2 separate regions of the Homo sapiens genome follow, and region 1 is linked to region 2. The links are contacts of gene promoters, found by promoter capture Hi-C in human tissues and cell types (Jung and others, 2019). All regions are on one chromosome and are shown on one strand. The core of a region is centred on a gene start or on the middle of the fragment in contact, and the rest is flanking DNA. Distances in the headings are between cores, read along the strand shown.

Region 1 (5,313 bases), core at 88-2,587, 130 kb after region 2:
TGTAGTGGCACAATTATGACTCACTGCAGCCTCGACCTCCCAGGCTAAGTGATCCTCCTACCTCAGCCTCCCAAGTAGCTGGGACTACAGGTGCATGCCACCACACCTGGCTAGTTTTTGTATTTTTTGTAGAGATGATGTTTTGCCATGCTGCCCAGGCTAGTCTCAAACTCCTGGGATCAAGTGATCTGCCCACCTAGGCCTCCCAAAGTGCTGGGACTACAGGCGTTAAGTCACTGCACCTGGCCTTATTTAGTTTTATTCAGTATAAGGCTATTAATATTTTCTGTTTCATCTGTGTTAGTTTTTGTAAGTTACATCTTTTAAGGAATGTTTCTATTTCTTGACATTGCTGAATTTGTTGGCATGAAGTTCATAATATTATCTTATTATTTAATGTCTATAAGGTCTGTAAGATTATTCCTGCTTTGTTTCTAATATTAATAATTTGTATTTTCTTTTTTTCCTGTTGATCATTGTAGACAAAGTTTGGTCAATTTTGTTGGTCTTTTTTTTTTTTTTTTTTTTTTTTGAGACAGAATCTTGCTCTGTCGCCAGGCTGGAGTACAGTGGAGCGATCTTAGCTCACTGCAACCTCTACCTCCTGGGTTCAAGTGATTCCACTGCCTCAGCCTCCTGAGTAGCTGGGACTACAGGTGTGCACCACCACACCCAGCTAATATTTTGTATTTTAGTAGAGACGGGGTTTCACCATGTTGGCCAGGATGGTCTCGATCTCCTGACCTCGTGATCCACCCGCCTTGGCCTCCCAAAGTGCTGGGATTACAGGCGTGAGCCACGGTGCCTGGCCTTGTTGGTCTTTTTAAGGAACCAACTTCGGGATTTGTTAATGGTTTCTATGGCTTTTCTTTATTACTTTATTGATTTCTGCTCTTTAGTTCCTTAGACTTACTTTGGTTGTACCTTGTGCTTTTGCTAGAACAGTCATTGATTTTAGGCCTTTCTTTCTTTTTAAATATAAGCATTTAAAGTTGCACCTTTCACATTTTGTTTTACTTTCATTATAACTTGGCTTGAAGTGTATTCTAATTTCCCTTCTGACTTCTTTGATGCATGGATTATGTATAGGTGTTCTAATTTTCAAATAGTTGATGGTTTCTTAGGTACTTTATTATTTATTTTGAATTTAATTCCATTGTGGTCAGAGAACATACTAGGTGTGATTTCCTTCCTTTTAAATTTATTTAGGCTTGTTTTGTGGTCCAGCATGGTATCTACCTTGATGAATATTCTATGTACACTTGAAAATAAGGTGTATTCTGCAATTGTTGGGTGTAATATTTGTTAGTTTTTCCATCAGGTATAAGGTGAGAGTTGTTAAGATCTTTGATAATCTGTTGTGGAAATTGTGAACTTTCCTGTCTGTCTTTAATATTGTCAATATTTCCTTCAAGCATTTGGAAGCTCTGCTATTAGCAGCCTACATATTTATGACTGTCAAGTGTTCTCCTGATGAATTTTTACTTTTATTCTTACTCAGTGTTCCTGTTGATCACTGGCAATACTCTTTTTCTTGAAGTTTTATATGATATTAATAGAATCACCTCTGCCTTCTTGATCTTATTGTTTGCATGGTGTGTCTGTCTTCATTCATTTACTTTGAGTGTCTTTGTGCCTTTATAAGTATGTCTCTTATAGACATCATGTAGTTGGAACTTGCTTTGTTTCTGTCAATTTTTATAATTATAATCTGTGTTTGAAGTGTTTACTTGATCAATATTACTGTGATTATTGATATGGTTGTATGTAGGTCTGCCATTTTACTATTGTTTTCTTTTTGTCCTTTTGTTTTTGAATTTTTTGTTCCTCTCTTTCTGTTGTCATTTAGATTATTTGAATATTTCTAGTATCCCCTCTGGGGTGCAGTGGTTATTCACAGGTGTGATTATATTGCATTGTAGTCTTAAACCCCTGGCCTCAAGCAGTCCTCCTGCCTCAGCCTCCCAAGTAGCTGGGACTGTAGGTGCATGTCCTGCACTTGACTGTAACGACGTTTTAAATAAATTTCTAATATTAGTTTAATAGTTTCTAATTATTAGTTACCACTATAATTGAAATTAAAATATGTCTTCCTCTAGCTCTTGATTTATCAATTTTAGGCAGTATCCCTTGTCTGCCTGCTACAGAAGAGGAAGAACTGAGTAGACCTCACTAGTTCCTTTTGTTCTTTCTCACCTTCAGTTTTAGTTGAGTATTTGATCTTTTGCTTATATTTACAGCTTTAATGTAATATAAATAAGTTTTAATATACCCAAGTTTCTTTCTTACCCTGTCACCTTTAGATAGCATCTCGATTGTATACTACTGATAATAAGGAAATTAGTATATTTCCATCTTACCTTTCAGCTACATTTTAAGTATGTGTTAGTATACTTTTATAATGTTTGTAGTATGTAGATTATTTCCTGTAACTATAATTGTGTATAGTAAGGAAATGAAAGCCATTTAGTAGATTAATGTATTGTATAGCTGCAGGATCAAGTCATGTGTTTGAATCCTTAGAGAAGGAGATGCAATCATTTCACCAACCAGGGTCAGATACATGGAGTCTCTTGTTCACAGATGGCCACACTTTTAGTATGCTTCTCATTTGGAGCAGGATTTTTTGGAAAGCGTCACCCCGAGTTAGAGTTACTGTCTCTCTGCCAGAAGAAACCTATGCCTCTGTCTTACTAAGAACATCTTGAGATTTTTAATGACAGTTTGTATGAATGAGATCCGCTCTCTGTGAAGATACTCTTTTTATATATATATATATACTTTTTTTTTCTTTTCACTCTGAAGATATTCTTTAGCCCTATAACTCCTGGCTGTGCCTGGCCTGCTGCACATCTTTTGCCCCAGAACTCCTTTCACTGCCTTTCTGGGTTTTTCTGTCTTCTTTTTAAAAATTTAATATAATGTCTTCATCTTTCTTGGATTCTTTTTTTATTTTGCTTAAAGTGCATCCTCAAAAAGTGATATGAATGCGTCTGATGCTGGAAGGGAGTATTGCAGCTTCTCAGAAATTCAGAGGAAAAATGAATTTTAACACAGACTTTTATGTATAGTAAACTATTAATTAGGGTAAGGATTCAGTGCAATTGTTTAGAAGTTTTCTTTTTTCAGTGTTCTGGAGACACTGGAATCACCTGTGGTGTAAAAGTTTGGAACAATCTCTGGAAAGACTGCTGCTTTACTGGGAGGTGGCTTAGTGACAGCTTTCTCTGTGAAAATGTTTTGTGTGGGCTTTCCTTTTTGAGCCAATGAAATTCTTTTAAATAGGTTAGTTTAGCACATTTGCATTGATCGATATGACAGATGTTTGGTCAACATTCTATCATTCTGTTTTGCTGAAATCTTTTTGCGATTTGGCCTGTATTTTGTATACGCTCCTGATATTTAGGAAAGTTTGTATTTTTGTACTTTTAAAAATAGTTTTATTAACACTATTTTGGCAACATCCATTAGTTTCCTACTGTGAGGGAAAATTTAGTGTACTTCCTCCTCTTCCTCACTGTTCTTCCACCTCTTAATAATTTGTTGAGGAAATTTTTTAGGATTTGCCTTTGTAATATTACTCAATTTATCAGTGGCTGATGTTTTCTGATTGCTTCAGCTGATGTAGGTGGGAATGAATGAACTTACTCCCTCATCATCCTTCCCCTTTCTTTTCCCATGTTTCGTCAGCTGTATCCCTTCTGCACCATCAGGGCACACGCTCTGCTCTGTCGCTGTTAGTCCCCTGCTTTGTGTTAGTCTTGGTTCTACGTGAAATTCAGTGTCTACTGGTTTTCCTTTGGCCATGGTTTCTTCAGCCATCACTTGGTGAGTTCATCTTATAGTAGTTTCCTCAGGGAGGTCCTAAGAGAATTTTCCCTGCTTTCTTCTATGTTCAATACAGATTGTACTTGTACCTTTTATATCTGAATGATAGCGTGGCTGGATAATAAAGTCCTTCCCTCACCCCTGTGCCATGTATCTCGTAGTTATTGTTCTGTTCTTTTCTGGGACTAATGTTATGGAAAACCTGGGGCCAGGTTTTTTGTTTTTGGCCTGGCCGTCCAAAGAGCCCTTATCTTCAAGTCTGAATTATGCTAGGATATGTCTTCTTGTTGCCCATTCTCAGCCAGGCTGCCCTGGCACCCAGTGCACCTTTTCAGTCTAGATCCATCTTTCACTTCAGGAACATTTTCTTAATCTGTTTTGGTCTCTTCTATTTGTTTCTTTTTCAGCTTAGTTTTCTGCATACAGGTTATACATGAATTGTATTTCCTTTGCCTTGTCATCATTAGCTATAATTTTTTCTCAGCCTTTTAAAAAAGTATTTTATATAATTTAGTTAAGTCAAAATTCACAAGAGACAAAGTAGGACATTAAATTATAATAAAAAGGTTCATTCATTGAGAATCTATGAATATATCTGACATCAGTTTTCCCAAACACATAAAGCAAATATTGACAGAATTGAAGCAAAAAATAGACAGCAATATAATAATGGTAGGATACTTCAGTATCCCACTTTCAGTAATGAATAATAAAGCAAGATAGAATATTAAGAAGGGAACAAAAAACTTGAATGCACTATAAAACAATTACACCTAACAAATGTATTCAGACAGCAGAGTACACATTCTTTTCAATAGCTCATGAAACATTTTCCTAGATAGACCACGTGTGACACCACAAGTCTTAACAAATTTTTTTAAATTGAAATTTTATAGACTATGATTTATGGCCCAAATGGAATAAAACTAGAAGTCAGTAACAGAAGGAAAATTGAAAAATTCACAAAATATGAAAATTAAACATGCTCTTGAGCATGCTTTTGCTCAAGGGTTGGAAGACATAATATTGTGAAGATGGCCATGCTGCCCAGAGTGAGCCACACATGCAGCACACCTTTCAATTCCCAATTTTACTTTTCTGAAAATAGAAAAAAACCCACAAAATTACATGAAACCTCAAGGGACCATGAAAAGTCTGACAATCTTAAAAGATGAAAAATATTGGAGACATTACACTTAATAATGTCCAAACACCAAACAAAGCTACGGTAACCAAAGCCCTTTGGTACTGGTATAAAGGCTGAACACCAAAGCAGTGAAGCAGAATGCAGCACAGACAGCAACTCTGGCAACATGCTCAGGTGAGTTATTTGCACGCCATTTATTGAAGCATTATCCACAAAAGCCAATAGGCGAAAGCAATTTAAACTTCCCTTACCAAATGAATGGATACATATAAATTGGAATACAAAAAAAATGGAATATTACTCAGCTTTTAAAAAGCAGGAGGTTTTCTAATATCTAC
Region 2 (5,481 bases), core at 1-2,500:
TCCCTGCAACCAGGCATAAAAAGTGCTAAAGACATAAATAGTTTCAAAGTTTGATTCTGTCACTTACTTGCTCCCTGATCTAGAACAAATTGTCAGCTCTAAGACTTAGCTTCCTCCATCTGTTTAAGAGCATCAAGACACCGACCTGGCAGGTCTGTAGATTCTGGACTCCATCCACTGGGCTGCAGGATCAGCGGGAACAAGAGCTGTGGTCTCTCTTGCTCAAGTATACGTCCCTAGAACCTAGCAGAGGACAGGCACGGAGAAGGCGTTCAGAATTTGCTGAATGGACACGTGAATGAAGAACGATCGAATGACTTAGGCGCTTAGTTAAGGAAACATCAGCTCCTGGCCCTTTATCCCTCCTATTTTTGCTGCCTCTGGCCTGTTAGAACGATTAACCCATGATCTGGGCCAAGGGCTTCAGAGCTGAACGTGGGGGTGGCCCGCGCGCCCCCGCTGAGATCTGGGCGCAGAGGCCTGCGGGCCCGAGGTACCCATCTCCGTTGGCCGCCACACTCCATCGTGGGGCGTCGTGCCGCTGACCACCCCTTTCCCCTTGCGTGGATCTCGGTCACAAGATGGCCGGAACAGGAAAGAAGGGGGCATGCTTTCCCGTTCCCTCCCTCCCCCATCCCGGGCAGGGCCCCCAGCCTTGCGCGGCGCCTCAAGTCCCAGGCGCATGGCACCGCCGGGCAGCCGAACCAGCAGACAAAAGCCGAGAGACGCGGGTTCCAGGGGAACCTCGGCGCCCTTCCTTGGAAGGCAAACAGGCAGTGGGGGCAGCGGCGGCTACTCCAGCTGGATCTGCAGAGGCTCGGCTCGCAGCCTGGAGAGGCAGGAGGGCCGGCTTCGCGGGTATCGGGATGCCCCGTCAGCCACCTCCTGTGGGCGCCTGGCGCATCCCCGGTCTCGGCTCACCCCAGCTGCGCGCTCCTGGGCGGGTGCCGGGCGCTGCAGGCGGGCGGGGGCGACACAGGGGACCCAGACCCCAGGGTCGCTGCTGACGCGGGCCGGGCCCGCGGAGGCCGAGGAGCAGCAAAGCGGAGAGAGGCAGGCCGGCTCCTTCTTGCAGGGCGCAGGATGAAACGTGTCTGGTCTGGGCAAGTTGTGGCGAGGCGGGTCGACTGGCGCCGCTCTAGGGCCTTCCAGACTCCGGACCACGGACGACTCAGGATACCCCACCCCCCTCCCGCCCCCTCCCCTCCGCGATCTCCCTCCGGCCTCTTCCCTCGGTGTCCCGGCTCCTCTGGCAACTGGGCGGGACCGCGAGCGTCTAGACCGCAGCGCTAAAATGCGCTCAGCCAATCCGGCAGCTGGCGCAGACACGTGGTTCGGGGGCGCGCTCCGTTGCTGGCCCTGGATGCTAACCCTAGGAAGGCTTTTCAAAGAGAAACCAGATTCGCTCCTACCCGGTTGTTGGTCTGGCCCTCAGCAAGCTAATTTCCCAGAGGAGCTTCAGGTGAATTATCTTCCAAAAAGAGATGCGTTTTAATCGCAGAAGTCTGCAGATGCGAAGGACCTTGAAAAGGCTATCTAATGTGGCCCTGCATTTGAGTGACGTGGAAAACCGAGATTAGGGACTTTTCACCAAAGCCCTCTAGGATTTAAACCCACGTAGGTTTCTGCGTCTCTTTCCGTTATGCCCACTTCAGGATGAAAGGCACGGATCTTTGTTGGTAGAAAGTTAGGCACTGAATTACAGGAGATGTGGGTCCGGAGTAGTGTGCTCATTTATGTAACCTAAAATTGGAACACGTGGGACAAAAGTCAGTATTTTTAAGTAACAAGTAATCCAGAACGTATGTATATACCATCATGAGAAATGAAGGCATCTTTTGCAAAACCTAAGTGTCTAATGCAGCTATATATATATATATATATAATATATATATATATGTTTTTAAATTAGAGAGGAGTAGCTGCAGAACTTTTACTGGACCAACATGCCGTTGTAAAAGTGCCTTTCCTTGTGCTTCTCCCTGACAGAATCAACTTTGTACCATACTTTAGCACAAGGCTTCAAACATAGCAACAGCTAAATATGTATTTATGTTGAATTCCTTGCTTTAGTTTTATTTGAAGCCATAAGGCCAAGATGACCATGATGGGATTTTAAATTGGTCTAATTTTAAAATTATTTTGAAAGAAAATTCAAGATCTCTATAAAAATCCTCTAAGTACTATGGGGAAAGATTTCTAGATAGAAATTTCAGACAATAGGCCGAGCGCAGTGGCTGACGCCTGTAATCCCAGCACTTTGGGAGTCCGAGGCGGGTGTATCACGAGGTCAGGAAATCGAGACCATCATGGCTAACACGGTGAAACGCCGTCTCTATTAAAAATACAAAAAATTAGCCGGGCATGGTGGTGGGCACCTGTAGTCCCAGCTACTCGGGAGGCTGAGGCAGGAGAATGGCGTGAACCTGGGAGGCGGAGCTTGCAGTGAGCCGAGATCGCGCCACTGCACTCCAGCCTGGGCGAGAGAGCGAGGCTCCGTTTCAAAAAAAAAAAAAAGAAAAAAGAAAAGAAAAGAAAAAGAAAGAAAGAAAAAAAAAGAAAGGAATTTCAGACAATATGAGATAGATAGGACCATTGCTCTGCAAAATCCGGTTTTTGCAAACTCGGTAGCTGTCTGTGTGTGTGTGTGAGAGAGAGAGAGAGATGATTGCTTAATTAATATTATTTGTTGACATACCATTTGAGTTACATGTATTTCCCATCCCCACTGTCAGTATATTACCCTACAGGTGTAGAATTGGAATAAGAAGAATCAATTGACTTTGGCATGACTTAGCAGCCATGATGCATTCTTGATCTATGCACAAACCACTTTTACCAATTGTATAATGGTATACATATTTTTAATGATTAAGGTATCTCTCTCGTCGGTCAGACTATAAGAACCTCAAGTATTCCAGCATTTTGAGCATTTAGTAAGTCCTCAAATAAATATTTGCTTTTTGAAGACAGAAATGATCCTAAAGAATGAAATAATAATACTGGTGAACATTAATCATTTTGTACAGTAAATAAACAAAAGCATTGTAGCTGAATTTATTTCAAATGATTGTTTCTGTTTCTCTCATTTGAAAATAGTTATTGATATTACCTGGCTAATGTCCTTTAGTATGAAGGCGATAAATAAAGAAGGGCAGAAATCACATGTGTTGTCTGATTCAATACATATTAATTATTTTGCCTCATATTCCCATTTCAGATACCTAACCTTGGTTTTATATACATGGTTTAAAGAATAATAGGCCAGGTGAGGTGGCTCAAACCTGTAATCCCAAAACTTTGGGAGGCCAAGGTGGGCAGATCACCTCAGGTCAACAGTTTGAGACCAGCCAGGGCAACATGGTGCAACCCCGTCTCTACTAAAAATACAAAAATTAGCCGGGCATGGTGGTGCACACCTGTAATTCCAGCTACTCAGGAGGCTGAGGCAGGAGAATCACTTGAACCTGGGAGGCAGAGACTGCAGTGAGCTGAGATCATACCACTGCACTCCAGCTTGGGCAACAGAGGGAGACTCTGTCTTGAAAAAGAAAAAAAAAAGAAAAAAAAAGGAAGCAAGTTTATTAAGAAAGTGAAGGAATAAAAAAAAAATGTACTCCATAGGCAGAACAGCCTGTACCACATTTTTTAAATCCAATCCACTGTTGACAGGCACTTTGATTGATTCCACGCCCTTGCTATAGTGAATAGTGCTGTGATGAACATATGGGTATATGTGTCTATTTGATAGAATGAATTATTTTCATTTGGGTATATACCAGGTAGTGGGATTGCTGGGTTGAATGGTAGCTCTGTTTTAAGTTATTTGAGAAATCTCCAAACTGCTTTCCACAGTGGCTGAACTAGTTTGTATTTCCACCAACAACGTATAAGCATTCCCTTTTCTCTGAAGCCTCGCCAACATCTGTTGTTTTTTGACTTTTTACTAATTGCCATTCTGACTGATGGAAAACGACATTAACAGACACTTCTCAAAGGAACACATACAAGCGGCCAACATACGTATGAAAAAATGCTCAACACCACGAATCATCAAAAAAATGCAAATCAAAACAATGAGAAACCATCTCATACCAGTCACTGTGAGATTTAACAGATTTTAGGGCTGGTTTATAGGGAGAAATGTATTTAGGGGCTTGCAGGGAATTTCTTTGTAATTTGTGAGGGAGGCCATCTGGGAAGGTGTATGGCCTTCTATTATTGTGGGAATCTGACTTATATATAAGGCTCTGGCATGGAATTGTGAAATTACAACCATCTGTTTGGAAACAAAATGGTAGGCAGTATTGCCCCAACTCAGTTGCCAAGCTCAAATCTCCTTTGGCATAGTGAGTTTGGGGTCCCAAGATTTTATTTTCTTTCACACTTGGAACCTGAAAGTCAGACCCACATACTAAGGATGGGAAGGCAGAATGATGTTGTAAAGGGGTCATATCAGTCTTGAACCACCTGCATCTAGACATCTCTTCCAGGTGAGAAACCTTTTCAAGACATTTATCTGGATATTCTCTTTTATGCAGAAAAATCGAATTTTAACTGCCATTAGAACCTCCCACATCTCATGATTGTTCTGTGGATTACAGGGAACTGTTCTTGTGATAATTCAACTTCAATTGCATTCACTGCCACTATAACAATTAAATTCCTGGGAGGGTTGGGCACAGTGATTCACGCCTGTAATGCCAGCACTTTGGGAGGTCGAGACAGGCGGATCACCTGCGGTGTGGAGTTTGAGACCAGCCTGGTCAACATGGTGAAACCTCATCTCTACTAAAAACACAAAAATTAGCCAGGCATGGTGTCCCATGCCTGTAGTCCCAGCTACTCAGGAGGCTGAGGGAGGAGAATCACTTGGACTCAGGAGACAGAGATTGCAGTGAGCCAAGATTGTAACACTGCATTCCAGCCTGGGTGACAGAGTGAGACTCCATCTCAAAAATAAATAGGTAAATAAATTCCTGTGAGAAAGATTCTAATTGACTTAGTCACATGCCCAACCAGTGGTTTGGCTAAACGCAGGGTGTAAATGACAGCTCCACCATAATTACTTGAAAAAGACTGTAGCAATCCTCAAAGGAAGGTACCTATATAGAGAAATATGAAAACAAGACAAATGCAATGTCCATTAAATCCAACTCCTTCGCTGCTTAGCACCCACACACACTCATATTCTTCTTTCTATTGATATGTCTTAGTCTGTTTTGTGGCACTACAACAAAGTACCTGAGACCGGGTAATTTATAAAAATGGAAATTTATTTTCTCATACTTCTGGGGGCTGGGAAGTCCAAGATCAAGGCTCTTGCAGGTTTGAGTTTCTGATGAGGGCCTTCTGGTAGCGTCCTCACATGGCAGAAAGCTGAAGGGCAAGAGAGAGTGAAAGAGCAAGTGAGCAGAACGCTTTATGAAGCCTCTTTTATAAGGGCTTTACTCCCATTAATGAGGGAGGCATCTTGATGGC

What was found. The method cuts DNA at HindIII sites, captures the fragments that hold promoters and counts their contacts. A contact is called where the count stands out against the background at its distance.
Region 1: a fragment that was not itself captured here is called in contact with the fragment with the promoter of DZIP1 in region 2 in 1 of the 25 tissues and cell types used here (mesenchymal stem cells).

The regions. Positions count from the first base shown.
Region 1 is chr13:95,773,224-95,778,536 of GRCh38, forward strand. All of the region lies in intron 9 of DNAJC3 (DnaJ heat shock protein family (Hsp40) member C3), which reads left to right. Among named protein-coding and RNA genes, the nearest start is that of DNAJC3, 99 kb to the left of the region's middle. The HindIII fragment of the contact is 7,229 bases long and covers 1-4,952 here.
Region 2 is chr13:95,643,456-95,648,936 of GRCh38, forward strand. It overlaps DZIP1 (DAZ interacting zinc finger protein 1), which reads right to left and starts at 1,251. Exons shown (of 23, transcript NM_198968.4): 1 at 922-1,251; 2 at 146-243. It overlaps LOC124903194 (a long non-coding RNA gene), which reads right to left. Exons shown (of 2, transcript XR_007063840.1): 2 at 5,256-5,379. RefSeq lists silencers at 864-973, 1,034-1,123, 1,214-1,323 and an enhancer at 1,414-1,463. The HindIII fragment of the contact is 16,516 bases long and covers 1-5,481 here.